Linked DNA regions of Homo sapiens: regions 1, 2 and 3 are each linked to region 4. Evidence: promoter capture Hi-C in 16 types of primary human blood cells and fetal thymus (Javierre and others, 2016). All regions are on one chromosome and are shown on one strand. Each heading gives the region's core, a stretch centred on a gene start or on the middle of the fragment in contact. The rest is flanking DNA. Distances are from core to core; before and after follow the strand shown. Region 1 has its middle 24 kb from the start of TASOR. Region 2 has its middle 39 kb from the start of TASOR. Region 3 overlaps ARHGEF3 (Rho guanine nucleotide exchange factor 3). Region 4 holds the start of SPATA12 (spermatogenesis associated 12).

Region 1 (6,248 bases), core at 1,817-4,316, 350 kb after region 4:
CACTGCAACCTCTGCCTCCCAGGTTCAAGTGATTCTCCTGCCTCAGCCTCCCAAGCAGCTGGGATTACAGGCACCCACCATCACGCCCAGCTAATTTTTGTATTTTTATAGAGACAGGGTTTCACCATGTTGGCCAGGCTGGTCTTGAACTCCTGACCTCAGGTGATCCCCCCACCTCGGCCTCCTAAAGTGCTGAGATTACAGGTGTGAGCCACCGAGCCCAGCCATTTGTTTGCTTTTTCAGACAGGGTCTCACTATATTGTCCAGGCTGGTCTCCAACTCCTTTCTCAGCCTCCCAAAAAGCTAGGATTACAGGTGTGAGCCACCACACCTGGCCTTGATTTTCTGTCTACCTTTTATATTAATTAGAGAAGTACTAAAATTTCCAACTGTAAGTTTGGATTTGTCTATTTCTCCTTTAAATTCTATCAGTTTTGGGATATGTATTTTGAAGATTTGTTATTGGATACCAACACATTCAGGACTGTTTTATCTTCTTGATGAAATTACCCCTTCATGGTTATGAAATGTTTCTCCCTTAGCTCTAGTAATACTCCTCATTATAAAGTCTCTTTATATTGGCATAACCACTCTAGCTTTCTTTTGACTTGTAGCATATATGGTATATATTTTGTCATCTTATATATTTTAATCTGTGTGTGTGTGTGTGTGTGTGTGTGTGTATACTTTTTTTTTTGAGACAGAGTCTCACTCTATCACCCCAGCTGGAGTGCAATGGCCCAATCTCAGCTCACTGCAACTTCCACCTCCTGGGTTCAAGCGATTCTCCTGCCTCAGCCTCCCAAATAACTGGGATTACAGGCACCTGCCACCATGCTCAGCTAATTTTTTGTATTTTTAGTAGAGATGGGGTTTTACCATGTTGGCCAGGCTGGTCTCGAACTCCCGACCTCAAGTGATCTGCCTGCCTTGGCCTCCCAAAGTGCTGGGATTACAGGCTTGAGCCACCACGCCCGGACTAATATATATTTAAATAGATTTATTGTGGACAGCATATATATGAGTCTTGCTTTTTTTTTTTTTTTTTTTTTTTTTTTGCGACAGAGTCTTGCTCTGTCGCCAGGCTGGAGTGTAGTGGCATGATCTTGGTTCACTGCAACCTCTGACTCCCTGGCTCAAGAGATTCTCCTGCCTCAGCCTCCGAGTTGCTGGGATTACAGGCACATGCCACCAGGCCCAGCTAATTTTTGTATTTTTAGTAGAGACAGGGTTTCACCGTGTTGGCCAGGATGGTCTCAGTCTCCTGACCTTGTGATCCACCCACCTTAGCCTCCCAAAGTGCTGGGATTACAGGCATGAGCCACCACGCCCAGCCTCTTGCTTTTTTTTTTTCTAATCTAGCCTGACAGTCTCTTTCAATTGGAAGCTTTATACCCTTTATGTTTAATGTAATTAATAATATAATTCATTTTAAGTCTGCCATCTTGTTAGTTGTTTTCTGTATGTTCCATTTGTTTTAGATTCCACTTTCTCTCTTTACCAACTTTTTTTGGATTAATTACTTTTTTTTTTTTTTTTTTGAGACAAAGTCTCGTTCTGTCACCCAGGCTGGAGTGCAGTGGCAAGGGAACCTCTGCCTCCCGGGTTCAAGCAATTCTCATGCCTCTGCCTCCCAAGTAGCTGGGATTACAGGCACGTGCCACCACGCCCGGCTATTTTTTATATTTTTAGTAGAGACAGGGTTTCGCCATGTTGCCCAGCTGGTCTCGAACTCCTGACCTCAAGTGATCTGCCCGCCTCGGCCTCCCAAAGTGCTGGGATTACAGGCGTGAGCCACAGCACCTGACCAGATTAAATATTTTCTAATACTGTATTTGTCTCCCCTTTAGTAGTTATTCTCTTTGGTCTTTTTTGGTTTTTTGTTTGTTTGTTTAGTGTTTGTTCTTTAAATTATCACCATCTACCTTCAAATAATATCATACCGGCCACGCGCGGTAGTTTATGCCTGTGATGCCAGCACTTTGGGAGGCCAAGGCGGGTGGATCATGAGGTCCAGAGTTTAAGAGCAACCTGGACAATATGGTGAAACCCCGTCTCTTCTAAAAATACAAACATTAGCCGGAAGTGGTGGCAGGCACCTGTAATCCCAGCTACTCCGGAGGCTGAGGCAGGGAACTGCTTGAACCCAGGAGGCAGGGAACTGCTTGAACCCAGGAGGCAGAGGTTGCAGTGAGCTGAGATCGCGCCACTGCACTCCAGCCTGGGCAACCGAGTGAGACTCCGTCTCAAAAATAATAATAATAATAATAATAGTATCATACCTTTCATGTATAACGTAGAATCTTACACCAATATACTTCCATTTCCTTCACCCCCTTCTCTGTGGTAGTGTTGTTACACATGTGTCTTCTCATGTTTTAAGCTCCAAATTTTATTATTATTTTAACATAATAGAGATAGATAGACATATTTATCTTTTAAAGAAATAAAACAATTAGAAAAAATTGTTATATCTGTGCCAATATTTACCTTTTCTTTTTTTTTTTTTTTTTTGAGATGGAGTTTCACTCTTGTTGCCCAAGCCGAAGTGCAATGGCGCCATCTCGGCTCACTGCAACCTCCACCTCACAGGTTCAAGTGATTCTCCTGCCTCAGCTTCCCGAGTAGCTGGGATTACTGGCATGTGCCACCACGCCCGGCTAATTTTGTATTTTTAGTAGAGACAGGGTTTCTCCATGTTGGTCAGGCTGGTCTCAAACTCCTGACCTCAGGTGATCCACCCACCTTGGCCTCCCAAAGTGCTGGGATTACAGGTATGAGCCACCGCCCCCGGCTATATTTACCTTTCTAGTACTCTTATTTCATTTGTATAGAAAAAAGTTTCCATTTGGTATTATTTTATTTCAGCCTGAAGAACTTTCTTTGAACATTTTTTATATTGGAGATATATACTAACAATAAACTTCTCGGCTTTTGTTTGAAAAATCTTTAATCTTGTTTTAATTTTTAAACAGTATTTTCACTGAAAATAGAATTTTAATCTACAATATTTTTTTCTCTGAGCACTTTAAAGATATTACTTCATTGTCTTCTGGTTTGCAGTTTCTACCAGAAGCCTGTGAATAATTCTTATCTTTGTTCTTCTGTATGTAATGTGTATTTGGGGTTGAGAGGAGCCTGCATTTAAGATTGTATCTTAATCATTGGTTTTTTAGTGATTTTAATTATGACATGCCTTGGTGAGGTTTGTATGTGTGAGAATGTTTATCCTACTTGGCATTCAATGAATGTCTTGGGTTTCTGTGTCTGTGATTTCCATAAAATTTGAAAACTATAAGCCAATATTTATTAAAATAGTTTTTTTGTAGTATCCTTCCTTATGAGACTCCAATTATGAATATGTTAGACCACTCCATATTTTTCCAGAAGTCAGTGAGGCTCTGTTCATTTGGTTAAAAAATATTTTTAACATTTGTGCTTCATTTTTAAAAACAGATTCTATTGCCAGGTTCTCAAGTTTACTATTTATGTTTTAGCAGTTTCTAATCTTAATACCTCCAGAGAAACTTCCATTTTCATTCTGATACTATATTTTAATCTTTGGATATTCCATGTGTTACTCTTTTGTAGTTTCATTTCTTTGCTTATGATGTTCATATTTTCACTTAACTGTGTTTACACTGTAATAATAGTTATTTTAATATTTCTATCTGCTAGTTCCAGCATCCGTATCATTTTTGTCTGTTTTCATTGATTGATTTTCTCTTGGTTATAAGCTAGCACTTTCTGGCTTCTTGGCATGTTTAGTAATATTTTATTGGATGCTGGACATTGTAAGCATCTGAATTTTGTTGCTGTTGTTGTTATTTTAAGGATATTAGGCCAGTTTACTTTTGTTGAGCACCTTGATAAAAAAGAAGAAGAATATTAGTCCAGCCGTGGTGGTTTATGCCTATAATCCCAGCACTTTGGGAGGCCAGGAGGATCACTTGAGCACAGGAGGTCGAGGCTGCAGTGGGCCATGATTGCACCACCATACTCCAGTGGTGCAATCATAGCTGGAAACAAAGGAAGAGAAGAGAAGAGAGGAAGAGAAGATCAGGCTTTGTTATGGCAGGCAGGTAAGCTAATTATAGATTATTTTGATACCTTCTTTTTTTTTTTTTTTTTTTTTTGAGGCAGAGTCTCACTCTGTCAGCCAGGCTGGAGTGCAGTGGCACGATCTTGGCTCACTGCAACTTCTGTCTCCCGGGCTCAAGCAATTCTCCTGCCTCAGCCTCCCGAATAACTGGGATTACTGGCATGTGCCACTACACCCAGCTAATTTTTGTATTTTTAGTAGAGACAGGGTTTCACCATGTTGGTCAGGCTGGTCTTGAACTCCTAACCTCAGGTAATCCGCCTGCCTCGGCCTCCCAAAGTGCTGGGATTACAGGCGTGAGCCACCACACCCAGCCCAGTTTGATACTTTTAAGGCCTATTTTAATTTTTGCTATGGCAGATATAGATTAGCCTTTACTCCAGGATTATTCCGTCTAAGCATGATCCCCCTGAATATTTGTCACATGGCTCAGTTAATTATTGAAGACTTTCCATTGGTTATTCAGGACCTTGGCTAATTGAAGTTCTCACTTCTCCCCACTCAGTTTGAACACTGAGTGTAATTCAGTTTACAATTCCAAGTCTTTATTTTCTCAGCCTCATGAAGGTTTTACTCCACACATGCATAGTCAAGGGGACTTCCTATGCGGTCTTCTGAAACTCTTTTTCTACAAAGCTTCCAATTCTCTAGAATTTTGCCTGGCAACTTTCAGTTACCTTCTGCTCCCCAAATCTCGGAGAGATTGCTCAGCTTCACTTGCATTCCCCTCCCCGCATCCACAACCTGGAAATTGCCTTCAGACAAAATTCCGGTGTGGTTTTAGGGTTTACCTTTTTGTTTCCTTTCTTTTAGGGATTACAATCCACACTGCCTATTGTCTGATTTCTGAATATAGTTGTTTAGAGTATTTTGGCCAGTTTTCTAGTTGTTTATGGGGGGATCAGTATAATTGGAAGCAGGAGTCTCAAAGTCATTTTTTAAATTTCTGTTTTAAAATGTAACAGCTCTGTGTACATACAATGGAATATTATTCGGCCTTAAAAAGAAATCCTGACATATGATAAAACATAGATGAACCTTGAGGATGTTATGCTAAGTGAAACAAGCCAATCACAAAAAGACAAATACTATATGATTCCATTTCTATGAGGTACTTAGAGTAGTCAAATTTATAAAGACAGGAAGTAGAGTGATGGTTAGCAAGTACTGCGGGGAGAGGGAAATGGCGAGCTGTTCTTTAATTGGTATAGAGTTTCAGTTTTGCAATATGAAAAGGGGATAGGAGATTATTTGTACAACAGTGTGAATATGCTTAACACTATTGGACTGTATGCTTTTTTCTCCCATATATATTCTGCTTATGTAGACTGTACACTTAAAATGGTTGAGGCCAGGTGCAGTGCCTCACGCCTGTAATTCCAGCACTTTGGGAGGCCAAGGTGGACATATCACCTGAGCTCAGGAGTTTGAGACCAGCCTGGCCAACATGGTGAACATGCCTCTGTAAAAAATACAAAAATTAGCCAGCCAGAGAATCACTTGAACCCGGGAGGCAGAGGTTGCAGTGAGCCTAGACTGCACCACTGCACTCCAGCCTAGGAGCCTGGGCGACAGAGTGAGACTCCATCTGAAAAAAAAAAAAAAAAAAAAAAAAAAAAGGTTGAGATGGTAAATTTTCTGTTATATGTATTTTACAATTTTTTTAAAAAACAGCTAACAGTGACTGGGCGCGGTGGCTCACAGCTGTAATCCCAGCACTTTGGGAGGCCGAGGTGGGCGGATCACGAGGTCAGGAGATCGAGAACATCCTGGCTAACACGATGAAACCCCATCTCTACTAAAAATACAAAAAATTAGCCAGGTGTGGTGGCGGGTGCCTGTAGTCCCAGCTACTCGGGAGGCTGAGGCAGGAGAATGGCATGAACCGAGAAGGCGGAGCTTGCAGTGAGCCGAGATCACACCACTGCACTCCAGCCTAGGCGACAGAGCGAGACTCCATCTCAAAAAAAAACAAAAACAAAAAAACAAAACAACAACAACAACAACAAAAACCACACCTAACAGTGTTCCAGTCATTTTACATTACGCTTAATCTGTGCAACAACCTCTTAAGATGTAGGTGCAATCATTATTATTTTGTTTTGAGACACTGTCTTGCCCTATTATACAGTGTGTGGTACAGTG
Region 2 (5,925 bases), core at 1,222-3,721, 340 kb after region 4:
TATCTTACAGTATATTAGAAGATGTTTGTACTGACATTTTGTGGGTTAGTACAAATGAGTGAGGGCTAAATGGTTTTTCTTCAGTCAATTTTCAAGATGTTATTTCACATACAACTAGATGTAATCCTTGCAGTCTAAATGAAAACTCATAAGCAATGAACAGAGCCAGAACTAGCAATTTTCTGTAAAATTAGAGCATGGTTTCAGCTTCTGGGTTGTGGTCACCGCCACTGACTGCTTTAGTTTCCATTCCCAGCACAGTCTGCGGCAGCTAAGAATGCACAACTCTTCATAACCACAGCCCTGTTTCAACAAAGACTGTGTGGCTGCAGGAAACTGCAACCCACCATCTTGGTGAAGAGCCTGTTCAACTTTCCATTTACATTCTGTCCATGTCCGTTTTTTACTAATTCTCCCAAAGCCTGAGGACTCTCAAAGATTTGGCAAAGAAACTGTCTGGCCAATCAGTTTCACTCACCTGGTTCCCCTTGGCATTGAGGAGAGAAGACACTGAATACCCCCCCTTATTGATGCAGCTGATTCAATTAATTCACACTAGCTTGTTTATTGACAGAATTCTAGAACTACACTATTGGAAGGGAAGAGGGTTACCCAAGCCCAAACCTACCAGTAAAAATCTGACAATCATCAAAATTTAAAACCTTGTCCGCATGAGCACACAGTGAGAAAAGGTGACCGTATTCACTGTACCTGAAGGGTATTGAGGGAAACAAGTTGGAAAAAAAAATGCTCATGACATCATATCTCCTTTCTCCAGGCTTGGTTCATATATCAGTCAGCTGCACAGACCTACCTAGTCAAAGCAGTTTTCAGTTGACGTGAGGGAATAGCAAGGAATTAGAAGTCATGCACTGTATCTTTAAGAGCTAATCACTTAGCCTAGGAAACTGGACATGCATTCCAAAGCTTGTCCACATGCAAACATACCTAGGTATTAATGAACTGTGCTCTCTCATCTGTGAAAGGTTTGAAAATGACATCCTACAAGTGTTTTATTCTCTGTTGCCAGGGACACTGGACCCTTCAAGCCCATTTAAATGTGAGACTGTATGTGAAATCACTTTTTAAAAAGATACTAAGAGCTAGTAGTTTTCATTGTTATTTAATAATCACTTTTAAATTTGTACATGTTGCCCAGGCATGGTGCCTTATGCCTGTAATCCCAGCACTTTGGGAGGCCGAAGAGGGCAGATCACTTGAGACCAGGAGTTGAAGATCAGTCTGGCCAACATGGTGAAACCCCGTCTCTATTAAAAATATGAAAAATTAGCTGGGCATGGTGGCAGGCGCCTGTAATCCCAGATACTCAGGAGGCTGAGGCACGAGAATCACTTGAACTTGGGAGGTGGAGGTTGCAGTGAGCACAGATTGCACCACTGCATTCCAGCCTGGGTAACACAGTGAGACTCTGTCTCAAAAAATAAAAAAAAATAAACCGTACATGTGAAATTTCTCAAAAGTGTGGCCTTGGCCTGGGTCTTTTTCATTCGTTGTACTATATACCTGGAGAGACTTTTCAATCCAGATAATTTGGAATTTTTTCTTGTATTTTTTTTTCTTACATATTTTCATTCCCACAATTTTCTATTTTCTCTTTCAGGAATTCCAGAAAGAGAGATGAACCTTCTGGATTTTATGCCTTAACTTCTGGATTGATTTTCAAATAGTCTTAATCTCTTTATTCTTACTTTTTATTTATTTATATTTTGTTCAACTCTCAAGGAGATTTCCTCACCTTTGTCTTCAGATCCTTCTATTAATTTGAGGAGAGGGTTGCCATCAGTTTTTTTTTCTACTATAAGTTTTTCTATCATTCTTTCTATACTTAAAGCACCCTTATTTTTATTTAATGAAGGCAGTGTCTTCTCTGAACTCTCAGAAGATGTCACAGTTCAGTTGAATTTTCCTTCATCTTTCATTGTTTATCTGGGAATAATAATGGTAATTAATAGGATTTGGGGGAGGATTCAATGTAGTAATACATCCAAAGTACTTAGAATGGGCCAGGCATGGTGGCTCATGCCTGTAATCCCACCTGTAATCCCAGCACTTTGGGAGGCTGAGGCGGGCGGATCACGAAGTCAAGAGATCGAGACCATCCTGGCTGACATGGTGAGACTCCATTTCTACTTAAAATACAAAAAATTAGCTGGGTGTGGTGGCGTGCCCATAGTCCCAGCTACTCAGGAGGCTGAGGCAGGAGAATTGCTTGAACCTGGGAGGTGGAGGTTGCAGTGAGCCGAGATCACACCACTGCACTCCGGCCTGGCGACAGAGCGAGACTCCGTCTCAAAAAAAAAAAAAAAAAAAACCTTAGAATGGGGCTATGCCCCGTATTTTTGTTTACTTCTCCAAATCCACTATGCACCCTGATTCACTCTTCTGTGTGTACTTCATCATGGGCTCTCCTGCCTGACGTTTCTGGTTTGGTTTGGCCCAGTGAAAATCCTGTCATTATATCAGTGAGAGGGAGAAGAGTGAGTTTAGAGTATTCATTCCTCCAGCTCCCACCTGGAGGATTTCCTTGGGCTGGTTGCATCTCTTATCGTGAGGTCACAGCTTCTCTCAAGGAGTCCTCTCTGAATTCCTGTAACCCTTCTAGCCTAGTATGGTAACAACCCCACTGTCACTAGCCCCAGGATATTGTATTGTCCCTACACACTGCCCAAACTTTGTGTACTGTCCCTTTATTAAAACCTCCTAATTTGAATATGTGATATTTGAGTATGCTGCTGAGCCCCTGATAGATACTGGTTCCTGATATAGTAAACATATATGTCTACTATTGTCATCATTTATGTTATTTCACCATTTGCTTTCCATTTTCAAATGTTGTGGTCCAAGGATAAACAGATCTTTGGAATCATCAAAGATGGGTTTTGTGTTTCTATTTTTTGTTATCGTGATGGATTGTTTTCTGGGAAGATAAATGAAAGCGTATTTCAAAAACAAAGGCAAAATACTTTTTCAGGCATATGAAAGCTAAAAGAATTCATCACCAGCAGACCTCCACTACAAGAAATGTTAAAAGGACTTTCTTTGAAGAGAAACAGAATGATACCCTGTGGACATATGGATCCAAACAACAGAATGAAGAGCACTAAAAATGCAACTATGTCAGAAAATAGGAGAGGCTTTTCTTACTATTTAAACTTCTTTAAAAGTAATTAGTTCTAGGTCGGTTGTGGTAGCTCATGCCTGTAATCCCAGCACTATGGGAGGATCACTTGAGCCCAAGAGGCAGAGTTTGCAGTTAGCCAAAATCAAGCCACTGCACTGCAGCCTGGGTGACAGAGCAAGACACTGTCTTTAAAAAAAAAAAAAAAAAAAAAAGGCGGCCGCAGTGGCTCATGCCTGTAATCCCAGCACTTTAGGAGGCCAAGTTGGGAGGATCACCTGAGGTCAGGAGTTTAAGACCAGCCTGGCCAACATAGTGAAACCCCGTCTCTACTAAAAATACAAAAATTAGCTAGGTATGATGGTGCATGCCTGTAGTCCCAGCTACTTGGGAGGCTGAAGCAGGAGGATCTCTTGAACCCGGGAGGCGGAGGTTGCAGAGAGCCAAGATTGCACCACTGCACTCCAGCCTGGGCAACAGAGCGAGACTCCATCTCAAAAAAAAAAGAAAAGTAATTAGTTCTAGCCATGATGGAGTAACAGGCACCAGATTTGCCTTTGCAACTGAAATAAAAACAAAAAGATGAAAAAACCTATAAAGCTATAGCTTTGAAGACACTGGACATCAGGCAATGAAGGACAGTGACCCTAAGAGAAGAGGTATAAATGAGGTGAGCCCTGCAATTGCTCCAACTTCCAGTCTTGAAAGGGATTTCAGGACACAGCACAGGGAGGGTGTCCATTTGCATTGCTATAAAGGAATACCTAGCCTGGTTAATTTATGAAGAAAAGAAGTTTATTTGACTCATGGTTCTGCAGGCTGTACACGAAGCATAGTGCTGCCCTCTGCTTCTGGTAAGGGCCTCAAGAAGCTTCCAATCATGACAGAAGGTGAAGGGGAGCCAGCGTGTCACATGTCAGGAGAGAGTGAGAGAGCAAGGAGGAAGTTCCAGACTCTTAAACAATCAGATCTTGTGTGAACTCAGATAACTCATTACTGTGAGGATGACACCAAGACATTCATGAGGAATCTGCCCTCATGGTCCAAACACCTCCCACTAGGCCCCACCTCCAACATTGGGGATTACAGTTCAACATGAGATTTGGAAGGGACAGACATCCAAACTATATCAGAGGGGGATCCCAGGTAGACTCCAGTGAACTTCCTGAGTGGAAGTTTTGGAGCTGAGAGTTTAGGGAGACCAAGGCAGCTACAGTTTACAGAACAAAGAGGAGAGCAGTCCATGGAGAGACAACCTCAGAGATTACTGTAGAGAGTCCCCCTCAGGTATTAAGCAGAGTATTGAAAAGTGCATACATGTGAAGAAAATACCCAAGGCTGAGGGGAAATACCCTAAAAAAATTAGAACACACATAGTGCTTGGAATAGTGCCTATTCTCACAAACCAGACTAGAAGAATATAATTCACAGGGCATTGGGTAAAGTACTCAGAAGGGTCTAGTTTCAGTAGTGGAGAATAATTAGTCCTAGAGTAAACACTGCTCTGGTCCAACCTAATAAATCTTAAAGACCAAATAGTATCAAATTGTTTCCAAGTAACCTAACTGCATCCTGGAGCAAAGCTCAACAATATTTATGGGAATACAAAATTATCCAGCACTGAATAGGGTAAAATTCACAGTGCCTGCCATCTAATGAAAGACTACAAGACATGCAAAGCAGGAAAACACAACCCATAGAAGAAAAACATAAAAACCAATCCAAACTGACTTAGACCTGACAGAAATGTTAGAATTAGCCAACAAGGATGTTAAAACAGTTGTTATAGCTGTATTCCATATTTTTAATGTTAAGTAGAAACACGAAAGAGATGAAAAAAGACCCAAATATAATTTCTACAGATGAAAATTACCATCAATGAGATGAAAAATATGGCCAGGTGCGGTGGCTCAAGCCTGTAATCCCAAAACTTTGGGAGGCCGAGGCAGGTAGGTTAACTGAGGTCAGGAGTTCGAGACCATCCTGGCCAACATGGTGAAACCCCGTCTCTACTAAAAATACAAAAATTAGCTGGGCATGGTGGCACATGCCTGTAATCCCAGCTACTGGGAAGGCTGATGCAGGAGAATTGCTTGAGCCTGGGAAACGGAGGTTGCAGTGAGCCAAGACTGTGCTACTGCACTCCAGCCTGGCTGACAGAGCAAAACTCTGTCTCAAAAAGAAAAAAAAAAATACACTGGATGGGATTAAGAATAGTTTAGACATTGCAGAAGAAAATACTAGTGAAAAAGACAGCAATAAAAATTATTGAAAGTGAAACATGGAGAAAAGAGGATTTTAAAATGAAAAGAGTATCAGAGAGGCATTGTGTCTGGAATTGGTGGGTTCTTGGTCTCGCTGACTTCAAGAATGAAGCCGCGGACCCTCGTGGTGAGTGTTACAGCTCTTAAGGTGGTGCATCTGGAGTTTGTTCCTTCTGATGTTCGGATATGTTCGGAGTTCCTTCCTTCTGGTGGGTTCCTGGTCTCGCTGGCTCAGGAGTGAAGCTGCAGACCTTCACGGTGAGTGTTACAGCTCTTAAGGCAGCGCGTCTGGAGTTGTTCGTTCCTCCCGGTGGGCTCGTGGTCTCGCTGGGCTCAGGAGTGAAGCTGCAGACCTTCGCGGTGAGTGTTACAGCTCATAAAAGCGTGTGGACCCAAAGAGTAAGCAGCAGCAAGATTTATTGCAAAGAGTGAAAGAACAAAGCTTCCACAGTGTGGAAGGGGACCCGAGCGGGTTGCCACCGCTGGCTCGGGCAGCCTGCTTTTATTCTCTTATCTGGCCCC
Region 3 (6,233 bases), core at 2,508-5,007, 300 kb after region 4:
TGGGCGTAGTGGTGCATACCTGTTGTCCCAGCTACTTGGGAGGCTGAGGTGGGAGGATCACTTGAACCCAGGAGGTGGAGGTTGCAGTGAGCTGAGATCATGCCACTGCACTCCAGCCTAGGCAACAGAGTGAGACTGTCTCAAAATAAATAAATAAATAAATAAATACTGAAAAATATAGTGAAGCACATAAAAGAGAATAAAAGTCACTTGTAATCCTACTTCCCATCACCAAAAAACTTCCATTAATATTTTGGTACATACTCAGGCAATCTTACCTTTTACTATACTTGCATGTGCATTTTTTTTTTTTTTTTTTTTTTTTGAGACGGAGTCTCGCTTTGTTGCCCAGGCTGGAGTGCAGTGGCGCAATCTCAGCTCACTGCAAGCTCTGCCTCCCGGGTTCAAGCCATTCTCCTGTCTCGGCCTCCCCAGTAGCTGGGACTATAGGCGCCCGCCACCACGCCCGGCTAATTTTTTAATATTTTTTAGTAGAGACGGGGTTTCACCATGTTAGCCAGGATGGCCTCAATCTCCTGACCTCATGATCTGCCCGCCTCAGCCTCCCAAAGTGCTGGGATTACAGGCGTGAGCCACCGCGCCCGGCCGCATGTGCATTTTTTAAAACAAAATGACTATCACACTGTATATGCTATTTTTTTACTCCCTTTGGTCTTAACGGTATAAAATAACTCTACAATAGAAGAGTATTTTTCATGTCGTTAAGTAGTTTTCAAAGACTTGATTTTTTTTTTTTTTTAATAGAGACAAAAATCTCCCTATGTTGCCCAGACTGGTCTCAAACTCCTGGCCTCAAGCAGTCCTACCACCCTGGCCTCCCAAAGTGCTGGGATTATAGGCATGAGCTACCACACCTCGCCACAGACCTGATTCTTAATGGACTCATAAAGCATTTCATCAAAAGAATGTACAGTTGAGTTAATCACTCTCCTGTTGTTGAACATTTGTTTCTGTTTTTTCATCATTATAGATAACAGTGCTTTCAACATCCTGATCATGTGTATGTCTGTATTTCTTTCTTTCCTTTGATTATACTCCTAGAAATGGAATTCTGGTCAAAGGGTGTGAATACTAAAGGCCGTTGATACGGCAAGGCTTCTGTTCTTGATGTGTGTCAGTTTTGGATAGAATTGCTTCTCTGTTTTCACATCTAAATCTAGACTTCTTACATTTCTCCTTCTCTTTTGCTACAGTTTTTCTCTTTGCTGTGATATCCCTCAAGATAGCTCTTCCCAGGGGTCCCTTGGGTTTTCCATGCAAGCCAAGGTGGTGTCTTACTTATCTCTGTATCCACAGTGCCTAATACTACACATTACTTAGGATGTGCTCAAAAATTAGTACTTGCTATTATTATCACCGTTATGACTAGAAAAGGCAGCCATTGCTGCTCCTAAGCTCTCTGCAGAGCCTGGCAGTGGCTGCCAGTGATGGGGCCCTGCCCATCTTCTTCAACTGGGCTGAAGGAGAATATGTGTCCCCTCCCCCAGTTGTAGCCCCTCCAGGAAGTATTGCTATGGCAAAGAAGGGTTTCTAGCAACCACTGCCTCTCATTGCTCCATCCTCTGGCCCTTAGATCAGGGAGTTATTTTATTCAACCCAGATGCAGCATGAACATATGATAAATTAGTGGTCTCCATTAATGTTATTTGGATCTACTGTGTTATTTATTCTGCCTAGACTTAATGGGGAGAGAGTCAATACAGAAAGGTAGGTAGTCCTGCTCTAGAGATTGTAAAAGTTCTACTTGATAAAAGTTGTCTAAGGTATATTAGCAAGTAGAGGAAGAAAATTGGGGGAAAGTTCAAAACCACTGTCCCAGTTGATAATATACACCCATATTAGTATATGGATAGGGAAAAAAAACCAGGAACGTCAAATTCTTTTTTTTTTCTGTTGTCTCTTGGGAATACAATTATACTTTTGCAGTTCTTTTGTTTATTTTGTGTTCTCCTCCTTTTTTCCCCAGTATGTAAGAATTACAAATGAATAGAAAATAAATGAGTTGGAACTATTGATTTTTTCATTATATATTTCTGTTATACTTGAATTTTTTAATATGTATTACCTTTGCAACCAAATAAAAATGAATAAGATTAGAAAATCTTCTATGATAAAATATACTACAGAGAGAGTTTAGCAATGGCCTGAGGGGTCGTCAAGGAAGGCTGCTTAGCAAGGGTGGAGGGATTTGGGTTGGGCCTGGAATGGCTCACAGATGATAAGGATGAAAGGGAGGAAGCGTTTCAGGCTTCAGAAGGGAATATGGGATGGCTGATGCCATCTAGATATAAGAAATAATAAGTAAGAAATTACCCAAGCATATGTGCTGATTTCCATGTCTGGCAACCATGATTACCTTCTCCAAGGACCTCAAACTTTGTCCCTTGGTCCAAGGTCATAAATTTTCTATAACTAACTTATTTGGCTGACATGGAGATGAGCTTGGGGGTGGAAGGCACATGTGTGTTAGGGAAAGCAACCAGAAACCAGACTGTCTTGTAATGGGTATCCAAGGGAGAGGATATAATCATGGGTTCTTAGTTTCTCTTTCTGGTTGGGCCAGTAAAGCCCCTTCCTTATCCCTCTTTTCCGCTTATCACTGGAAACAGAAACTAAAAACCATGGCTTCAGGCTGCTAAAAGCCTAAAACAAAACAAACAGAACAACAACAAAATAAGGCAAGTTGGACAAGCTTGGAGAGTATAGCTGACAAGTTATCTGTAGTCCATCTCAAGAGGAACTCCTGATTCTCTGCTGTTCTTTACTATTCCTGGAGTGGTAGAATATTACTGTTTATTGTTCCTGGAAGCCACTGTAAATAGTTGATATTGGGCCGGGTGCGGTGGCTCATGCCTGTAATCCTAGCACTTTGGGAGGCCGAGACAGGCGGATTGCCTGAGCTCAGGAGTTCAAGACCAGTCTGGGCAAGATGGTGAAACCCCGTCTCTACTAAAATACAAAATATCAGCTAGGCTTGGTGGCAGGCGCCTGTAATCCCAGCTACTCAGGAGGCTGAGGCACGAGAATTGCTCGAACCCGGGAGGCGGAGGCTGCAGTGAGCTGAGATCGTGCCACTTCATTCCAGCCTGGGCAACAAAGCGAAACTCTGTCTCAAAAAAAAAAAAAAAAAATTTGTTGACTATTGTAATTTAAAGCTTGTCATTTTTTATTTAGTAATAACACTCATTAGTGTAGTATCTATGATGAACCAGGTTCTGCACAAAGTACCTTATGTTCATGGCCTCATATCGTCTTCTCCAAAACTCTGCAAGATAGGATTCATCACCACTTATAGGGAGAGATCTGAAAGTTTAAAATTGTACCCAAGGTCACACAGCTGGTAAGTGCCAGAGCTGGGATTCCGTAGGGTGTTCAGAGTGCCTCTCCTGCCGTAGGCTTATCACAAAAAGTCAAAGTTTGGTCATAATAAAGCCTGAAGTTTGGCAGGATTTAAAAATAGTCACCAGACTTTTGAGTTGGAGCATCCCACCTCACTGCTGTTCACCTTCTGTGGCAGGGAGAGTCATCATTTCCATTTCAGCTTGTGGAATATCTTGTCATTAACATTCTCATGCAAAAGCCATTTTATGGTGCCCAATGAAGATGGTTGAGCTACTGCCCCAAGCCTCTGGAAGCCTTCCTAATTTTGGACTTGCACTATGCAAATTGTATAATATTTTCTCTACACCTAAGCCAAATATTTTCTTCAGCTTTTCATTCATTCTACTCAGAATATCTCCAAGCTACAGAAGGGTTTCTTGTTGTACTGGGTCTTTGAGGTTTGACATTTATTGATTATGAATTAATTGGGTGCCCTTTTACCATGGTTTTAATGTGCATCAATCTGAATCAGATTGTAAATATGTGGTTTTATGTTTATTGCACCATTTCTAACTCAGTGTTCATTGTCTTTCATGTTCGTCAACTGACCGTGTTTCTTCTTAGTTAATATTTCTTCATTAAAGAAAGTCTGGAAAATAAATGTAGAGAATTAAAAGATGAAAATAAAAATCAGCCAGGTGCAGTGGCTCACACCTGTAATTCCATCACTTTGTGAGGCTGAAACAAGAGGATTGCTTGAGGCCAGGAGTTCAAGACTAGCCTGGGCAATATAGTAAGGCCCTGTCCCTACAAAAAAAAATAAAATAAAATCAAAAAATTAAAAATAAATAAAATTTTAAAAAGAAAACAAAAATTATCCGTAGTCCCACCATCCAGGGGTGTAAACCTTGTTAACATTTTGTTGTATTTCAAATTGGGATCTTTCTTCTCTCACTTAACTCTGCATGTGAGGCTCTCTCCTTATCATTAAGCTTTTCTCAAAAAGAATGTTTCTTAACAACTGTTTAAGGTTCCCTTTTATTGTTGCAGAGTAATTTGTTTAATCCCTATTGTAGAACATTTTAGGCTGTTTCCAGATCTTTTATAAACAACAGTGTCCTGCTGAGGGCTTTTCTTTCCCTAGGAGTTATCCTAATGGAAGTCCCTCTAGGAGCCATTTGGCCCAGGTAGTTCAGAAAGATGTGTCTGCTGTTTGCTAATTAATGAAAGCACGTATAAACAAGCACTAATAGTGGCAGTGTGGTCTGTGGTATGACAATGATAGGTAACTACCATTCCTGCTGACCGAGTGCCAGGGACTTGGCCAAGCCTCTTGTGTACTTTATCTTATCCAATCCTCACTACAACTTTGTGAGGTACTTATTATTATGCACCTTTTAGAGATGAGGAAACTGAGACCCAGAGAGATGAAAGGTCTCTCAGCCATTGAATCAACTTGAAGCCATGCCTGTTTTACTCCAAAGCCTATGTTCTTCACCCAAATCCATGTTTTGGAGTCAAACAATTGCACTCAGTTCCTATTCCAACACTTAACTTGTGCCACTCACTTACCACTCTGCTACTCAAATTACTCATCCTCTCCTAGGATTAGCATGAGGGTCAAATGTGACAGAGACCACACAGCTGGGAAGTGTTACTTCTCACTTAACATTAATTTCTGTAATGGAGCCTCATAGGAGACTCCTCCAGGATGCTGTTGGTTAACATTTTCCTGTCCTGGCCATTATTGCTGTACATTTTGGTTTAACCCACCGCAGTGGCAACATAGGAGAGTTTTTTCCTCTTACAGTCCCACCCCAACCTCCAATCCCTGATAATAAACCATCTGCTACAAAATAGCAATATGGTTAGCATGGTAAGTGTGGAGAATTTCCTTGGCTTGAATACTTTATTGGAGCATGTTATCTGTGGCTGTGGAAAATGGTTTTTGGAAAAGGGCAAGGGAGGACTCCGCTGAACAGGCGGCATTAACAAATCAGATCTGTCCCATCATGTCTACCTGCTGGGTTTACATTTCCTCTGACACGTGTAAAGCGCACATGCCACCCCCGTCCCCCAACCCCCGGCAGACAGTCTGTTTTGCATCTGCAGCATCTTTTCCACATATCCAGCTTGGGCATAAACTTGAGCACCATTTCCTCAATCTGCATTATCTCTGTTTTATGGTCATTGTTGTTTTAGCTGCCAGCAATTATGAGATTGCAGTTTTTGACTCATTTGCTAGGCCAGATTCCCTCATGGAAACTCTTGCTTGTCCTGGAATATTTTTCACTCCGGTCCCAGCATCCCCACACCCAGGGAGATCTATGTATGTGCTTCTGTTTTTATGTGGTCCTGCCCAAGGCCAGGTCCCTCACTTTGAGGTGGGCCTCTTCTAGTTACCGTGGACTGGCGTTTCTCACCCCAGGAACATTTGGCAATGTCTGGAGGTGTTTTGGTTGTCATAACTGGGCTGGCTGTGCTGCTGGCATCTGGTGGTTAGAGGGCAAAGATGATGCGAAATATCCTACAATGCACAGGAGAGCCTCCCACAATAAAGAATCTCTAGTCCAAAATGTTGTGGTGGCCAGGTTGAGAAACTTTCTACAGGCCAAGAAGTAAACTACAGTTCATTTATTTGGGCACATGTACCCCGCTACACTATGAATCTTATCCTAGGGCAATTAGGGTAGGATATTGGTTAAATATTGGGGCAGGGAGGTTGGCCTGAAATAGACCAGACTTGGATTGTCATTCTGACAGTCACCTTACCACCGGGTTTTAAATAATAAAGCACCATTCATTAGCTGTGTGACCTTCAGCAAAGTGTCACCTTCTCTGAGCCTCAAGTTTCCTTGTCTGTAAAGGGGACAGAATCCTTACCTCTCAGA
Region 4 (5,686 bases), core at 869-3,368:
CTATATTTTTCTTACCTGTGAATTATTACATATGTGTATGTATGTGTGTGTGCATGTTTGTTGTGTGTGTGTGTGTGTGCATGTGTGTAGACAGAGAAACAGCGAGTCCTGTCATTCCCACCAGATATTCCTGCTTGTTAAACAGCTACATAGTGTTTTGCTGAGTGGCTAGAGCAGCTTTATTTAACCTTGTTTTGTTCAGTACTACTGGGCAGCTTCCAATCTTTTGCTATTGTAGATTATGCAGCATCTGTGCTGGGCACTTGCCCTGCTTCCTTCCCTCTTCTCTGAAAGGCTTCCCCATGCTCCTGAGCACCCCCCGCCCCCGCCGCCGTGCTCCTGAGCCTAGCCTGAGCCCGAGTGGGGGCTGTGGTCCTGGCTGGGCCTATCATGGTTCCCCTCCCCTCGGCTGTGGTAGCCGGTCTGGAGCTAGACACAAGCCACCCTTGCCAGGCTGTGGGCTTCCTCAGGGTCATCCTAACCCACTCAGAAGTGGCAGAGAAGGTGCTTGAAGGCACTCACCCAGCGCTAGAGCAGTGAGGACAGGCCCAGAGTGTGGAGCTGCGAGGGGAGGGTTGGGCACATTGCCTTTGGATCTAGTCACATGACTGAGCTGCTCCAGGGATCTTCCTACAAATCCCCCTTCTCACCCATCTAGATGGAGTTGGATTTCTCACTGCTAGCAGTGAGTCTAGACAGATCCAATCCAGTGGAGCATCCCTGCCCCACTCTCTTTTTTTACTTGATCCTTAGTCCAGAGCAAGGAAAGATGTGGAAACCCTCCCAAAGGCATTATTCAGGGCAGAAAATGCTTGTAGGCAGAGCAGCACCTTGTTTTTGTCACAACCGGAGAAACAATTTAAATCTGAACCTATGCGGGCTCAGATACTGATGCTGCCATCTGAGAAGGAGGACCTCTCTCACCTCAGGTTCTTTGTCTGTAAAATGGGGATGAAAATAATTATACCACACCTCAGGACTAAATGAGTTAATAAAAATTCTTAGAGTGGTGAGTAACACAGGATGAGAGACTGCTCACTGAGAGTTAGCTGTGGTGGCTGCCAGAATCCTAAAAGTGTAACAGGAGTTAAACATAGAGGTATCATATAGTCCAGCAATTCCAAATCTGGGTATATACCCAAAGAAATGAAAGCAGAGATCCAAACAGATACTTGCATTCCCATGTTCCCAGCAGCGTTATTCACAATAGCCAAAAGGTAAAAATAATACAAATGTCTATTGACAGATGAATGGATAAACAAAATGTGGTATGTACATACAATGGAATATTATTTAGCCTTAAAAAGGAAGGAATTTCTGGTTGAGTGAGATGGCTCACACCTGTAATGCTGGCACTTTGGGAGGCCAAGATAGGAGGATCTCTTGAGCCCAGGAGTTTGAGGCTGCAGTGAGTTATGATCGTGCCACTGTACTCCTGCCTGGATGACAGGGCCAGACCCCATTGCAAAAAAAAAAATAATAATAAATAAAGGAATTTTTGACACATGCTACAACATGCTGATCCATGAAAGTATTATGCTACATGAGAAAAGTCAGTCACAAAAGGACACTTACAGGGGGTACCTGGAATAGCAAGTTTAGAGAGAGAAGTATTAATACAGTAGGGGCTGGGAGAGGGGCAGGTGCAGGAGGAGTTACCGCTGAATGGGTACACAGTTTCTGTTTAGAATGACAACAAAGTTCTGGAAATGGATAATGGTAAGAGTTGTACAATATGGTGAATGTGCTAGATGTCACTGAACTGTACACTTAAAAATGGTTAAAGTGGTATGTTTTATATTATATTTTACCACAATAAAAAAGAGTATAAGAGGAGTTGGACTCTCCTGGACTTTTTCTTTATAGATTGAACTTATGTCAAAATGTAGCACAGTGAAAAAACAGGCACAGGCCAAAAAAGAAGTGGTGGTGGTGTGTGCCCATGTGTGTGTGTGTGTTTCGGGGTGGGGGTGGGGCGGCAGGTAAACTACTCACAAGACACCAGAGGCTCCTTTTGAGGTCTGATACTGCAGGCTGGGATCTGACGCTGCAGGATCAGGAAGAGTGGGGGAGATGAGGGGAAGGTGAGCCTGCACAAAGAATTTTCTCAGTGACTGTGGGCAGGGCAGTCAGGACCCTGGGTCACATGGGCCCAGCCCGGGACCAGAGCCTTTGTGAGTCACAGCTCAACTCCCAGCAAACAAAGGGATATGCCAGGGAGGGGCTGAGTTGTGACTCAGAGGCTGCTGCTGCTGTGAGCTTCCTCCAGGAACCCCATCCCTTCCAGTCCCTGATTCTGACTCCTACTGTGGGGGTGGGGACAGGTGTACCCACTTCCTGGGCAGGTTCTTGGAAGGGCTCTCCTGCAGAACCTAGACTTTTTTGCAGCTCCTTTTTGATAACCCGAGTAGCAGCAGCTATACCATTTAAGTGCTTGCTGCATACGGGCCCTGGGCTAAGTTCCTTTTTTTTTTTTTTTTGAGACAGAATCTCAGCTCTGTCGCCCAGGCTGGAGTGCCGTGGCACAATCACGGCTCCCTGCAGCCTTGACCTCCCAGGCTCAAGAGATCCTCCCACAGGGACTGTAGGTACATGTCACACACCCAGCTAATTTTAAAATTTTTTATAGAGATGGGGTCTCGCTATGTTGTCCAGTCAGCTCTTGAACTCCTAGGCTCAAGTGATCCTCCCGCCTTGGCCTCCCAAAGTGCTGGGATTACAGGTGTGAGCCACCATGCCTTGTCCCTCACTTCATCTATTTATTTTTATTTTTATTTTTATTTTTGAGATAGAGTTTCACTCTTGTTGCCCAGGCTGGAGTGCAATGGCGTGATCTCCGCTGACTGCAACCTCTGCTTCCCAGGTTCAAGCGATTCTCCTGCCTCAGCCTCCCGAGTAGCTGGGATTACAGGCATGTGCCACCATGCCTGGCTACTTTTGTATTTTTAGTAGAGATGGGGTTTCTCCATGTTTGTCAGGCTGGTCTTGAACTCTGGACCTTAGGTGATCTGCCCAACTTGGCCTCCCAAAGTGCTGTGATTACAGGCGTGAGCCACCATACCCAGCCCCTCTTCGTCTTTTTAAAGCCTCATTGTCACCCCATCAGGCAGTCATTTCAGTCCTACTTTGCAGAAGAGGAAATGTGCTTATGGAGGGAAGCAACTTGCCTGAGGCTATGTGGGTGGCAGATAGCAGAGCCAGATTTGAACCTATCACTGATTAAGGAGCCTGGACTTGTAATCATGCTGCTCACCACCCTCCCTCCCCCCACCCCCAACTCATACACACACGGGGAAGAACAGACTCCAAAATGTGACTTATCTTTAGGCCAAGCTTGTCTAACATGTGGCCCAATACAAATTCATAAACTTTTAAAAAACATTATGAGTTTTTTTTTTAGTTCATCAGCTATTGTTAGTGTTAGTGTATTTTATGTGTGGCCCAAGACAATTCTTCTTCCAGTGTGTCCCAGAGAAGCCAAAAAATTGGACACCCTTGCTCTAGGCTTAAAGACAAGGCTTAAAATTTTTTCCCTGTGCTTATGAAAAAATTTAGAAAATACAAGTAATGAATATATTTTATAGTAAAAAAAGGCATAGTTAAGTATGATTGCATGTCAGCATTTCTTTTTTTTATTATTATTATACTTTAAGTTTTAGGGTACATGTGCACAACGTGCAGGTTTGTTACATATCTATACATGTGCCATGTTGGCGTGCTGCACCCATTAACTCATCATTTACATTAGGTATATCTCCTAATGCTATCCCTCCCCCCTCCCCCCACCCCACAACAGTCCCTGGTGTGTGATGTTCCCCTTCTTACGTCCATGTGTTCTCATTGTTCAATTCCCACCTATGAGTGAGAACATGCGGTGTTTGGTTTCTTGTCCTTGCGATAGTTTGCTGAGAATGATAGTTTCCAGCTTCATCCATGTCCCTACAAAGGACATGAACTCATCATTTTTTATGGCTGCATAGTATTCCATGGTGTATATGTGCCACATTTTCTTAATCCAGTCTATCATTGTTGGACATTGGGTTGGTTCCAAGTCTTTGCTATTGTGAATAGTGCCGCAATAAACATACGTGTGCATGTGTCTTTATAGCAGCATGATTTATAATCCTTTGGGTATATACCCAGTAGTGGGATGGCTGGGTCAAATGGTATTTCTAGTTCTAGATCCCTGAGGAATCGCTACACCGACTTCCACAATGGTTGAACTAGTTTACAGTCCCACCAACAGTGTAAAAGTTTTCCTATTTCTCCACATCCTCTCCAGCACCTGTTGTTTCCTGGCATGTGAGCATTTCAAGTTGTTATTTTTATGCACACTTTTGGGACCTTGAAGGGCAGGTGACATGAAACAAACCCATTGGGTACAAGTATCACTCATTTTGCTGGACGCCGAGAGCATCACAGTCTATGACAGTTTTGTCCAATGTATGTAAAACTGTAATGGCATTTCAAAAAGACCAGACTGATTTGGAACAAGTTCTCATAAATGTGAAAATAGAGAAAATAGGTGTAATGTAGATTGGCCCTTGAGGGAGCAAGTGGTAATACTAATTTCCAGGCATTCCTTATTTTTCTGTGTAAAAGGCCACATGGCTTATTTTATGGAAAGAAACTTGTTCTTTCAGGACTTTTAATTGAAAGAGATTGTGGGAAATAGGTAACCCTCCCTTCCTTTACAGTCGGCTTTTGGTGAATGTGGCCATGGCAAGGACACGACTGAAGGGTTAAAGCCCAGTCAATATGAGGAAAAGGAAATTCACTTTGGACAATAGTTTTAGTTTCATCTGAAATTTTATCAGAGTTGCTAACTTGGTGGCAAAACTGACTGACTCATTTAAGTGGCCCCTCCTCAACTCTCCCTTGTCTGTCTAGTATGGACAGTAAAATCAGTGAGAGCAAGAATTAAGCCCCCCAGTTTGTCTGTTATAGTAGGAGGCAGTCATTCATTCACTTACTCTATATCACTCAAGTATGTATCAAGTGATACGATGGCTGGAGTTCGCTTCACTGGGTTGAGTGTAGAAGAAATAATATTAGGAATGAGTTGACCACTCAAATTGTATGATGTGTGGCACAGAGGGTACATTATATTCTTTCTCCGTTTGTATTTAAACTTTTACATTTTAAAAAAGCTTGTGTGGGGGTGTGGGTGTGGGTGTGACTTACCCTGGGCCAGGCCCTGTGCTAGGTGCTGAGGAAGTCTTGGTGGCTAAGACCGGCTCAGACTCTACCCTACCAGAGTCAACAGACAAGACTCACTCAGGAAACAGATACTAATCAAATAGTCACATGAATGCAAGTAAAATTATAGTTGGGATAAGTGCTGAGAAATCATGAACAGAAATGCAGAAACCTGGACGGGCGCGGTGGCTCACAGCTAATCCCAGCATTTTGGGAGGCCAAGGCAGTCGGATCACTTGAGGTCAGGAGTTCGAGACCAGCCTGGCCAACATGGCAAAACCGCTCTCTACTAAAAATACAAAAATTAGCCAAGTGTGGTGGCACGCACCTGTAATCCCAGCTACTTGGGAGGCTGAGGCAGGAGAATCACTTGAACTCAGGAGGCAGAGGTTGCAGTGAGCCGATATCATGCTGCTGCACCCCAGCCTGAGCAACAAAGTGAAACTCCATCTCAAAAAATAATAATAATGAAAATTAAAAAATGCAG

What was found. The method cuts DNA at HindIII sites, captures the fragments that hold promoters and counts their contacts. A CHiCAGO score of 5 or more calls a contact.
Region 1: a fragment that was not itself captured here is called in contact with the fragment with the promoter of SPATA12 in region 4 in 3 of 17 cell types (M2 macrophages, monocytes and M0 macrophages); the score reaches 7.6 in M2 macrophages.
Region 2: a fragment that was not itself captured here is called in contact with the fragment with the promoter of SPATA12 in region 4 in 1 of 17 cell types (M1 macrophages); the score reaches 5.1 in M1 macrophages.
Region 3: a contact is called between a fragment that was not itself captured here and the fragment with the promoter of SPATA12 in region 4, in 1 of 17 cell types (M1 macrophages). The highest score is 5.8, in M1 macrophages.

The regions. Positions count from the first base shown.
Region 1 is chr3:56,703,928-56,710,175 of GRCh38, reverse strand. No RefSeq gene overlaps it. Among named protein-coding and RNA genes, the nearest start is that of TASOR, 24 kb to the right of the region's middle. The HindIII fragment of the contact is 3,351 bases long and covers 1,391-4,741 here.
Region 2 is chr3:56,719,760-56,725,684 of GRCh38, reverse strand. No RefSeq gene overlaps it. Among named protein-coding and RNA genes, the nearest start is that of TASOR, 39 kb to the right of the region's middle. The HindIII fragment of the contact is 3,083 bases long and covers 930-4,012 here.
Region 3 is chr3:56,761,676-56,767,908 of GRCh38, reverse strand. All of the region lies in intron 2 of ARHGEF3 (Rho guanine nucleotide exchange factor 3), which reads left to right. Among named protein-coding and RNA genes, the nearest start is that of ARHGEF3, 37 kb to the left of the region's middle. RefSeq lists an enhancer at 4,080-4,957. The HindIII fragment of the contact is 1,158 bases long and covers 3,179-4,336 here.
Region 4 is chr3:57,057,096-57,062,781 of GRCh38, reverse strand. SPATA12 (spermatogenesis associated 12) reads right to left here and starts at 2,118. Exons shown (of 2, transcript NM_181727.2): 1 at 1,996-2,118. It also overlaps a transcript of ARHGEF3 not described here. The HindIII fragment of the contact is 10,199 bases long and covers 1-3,335 here.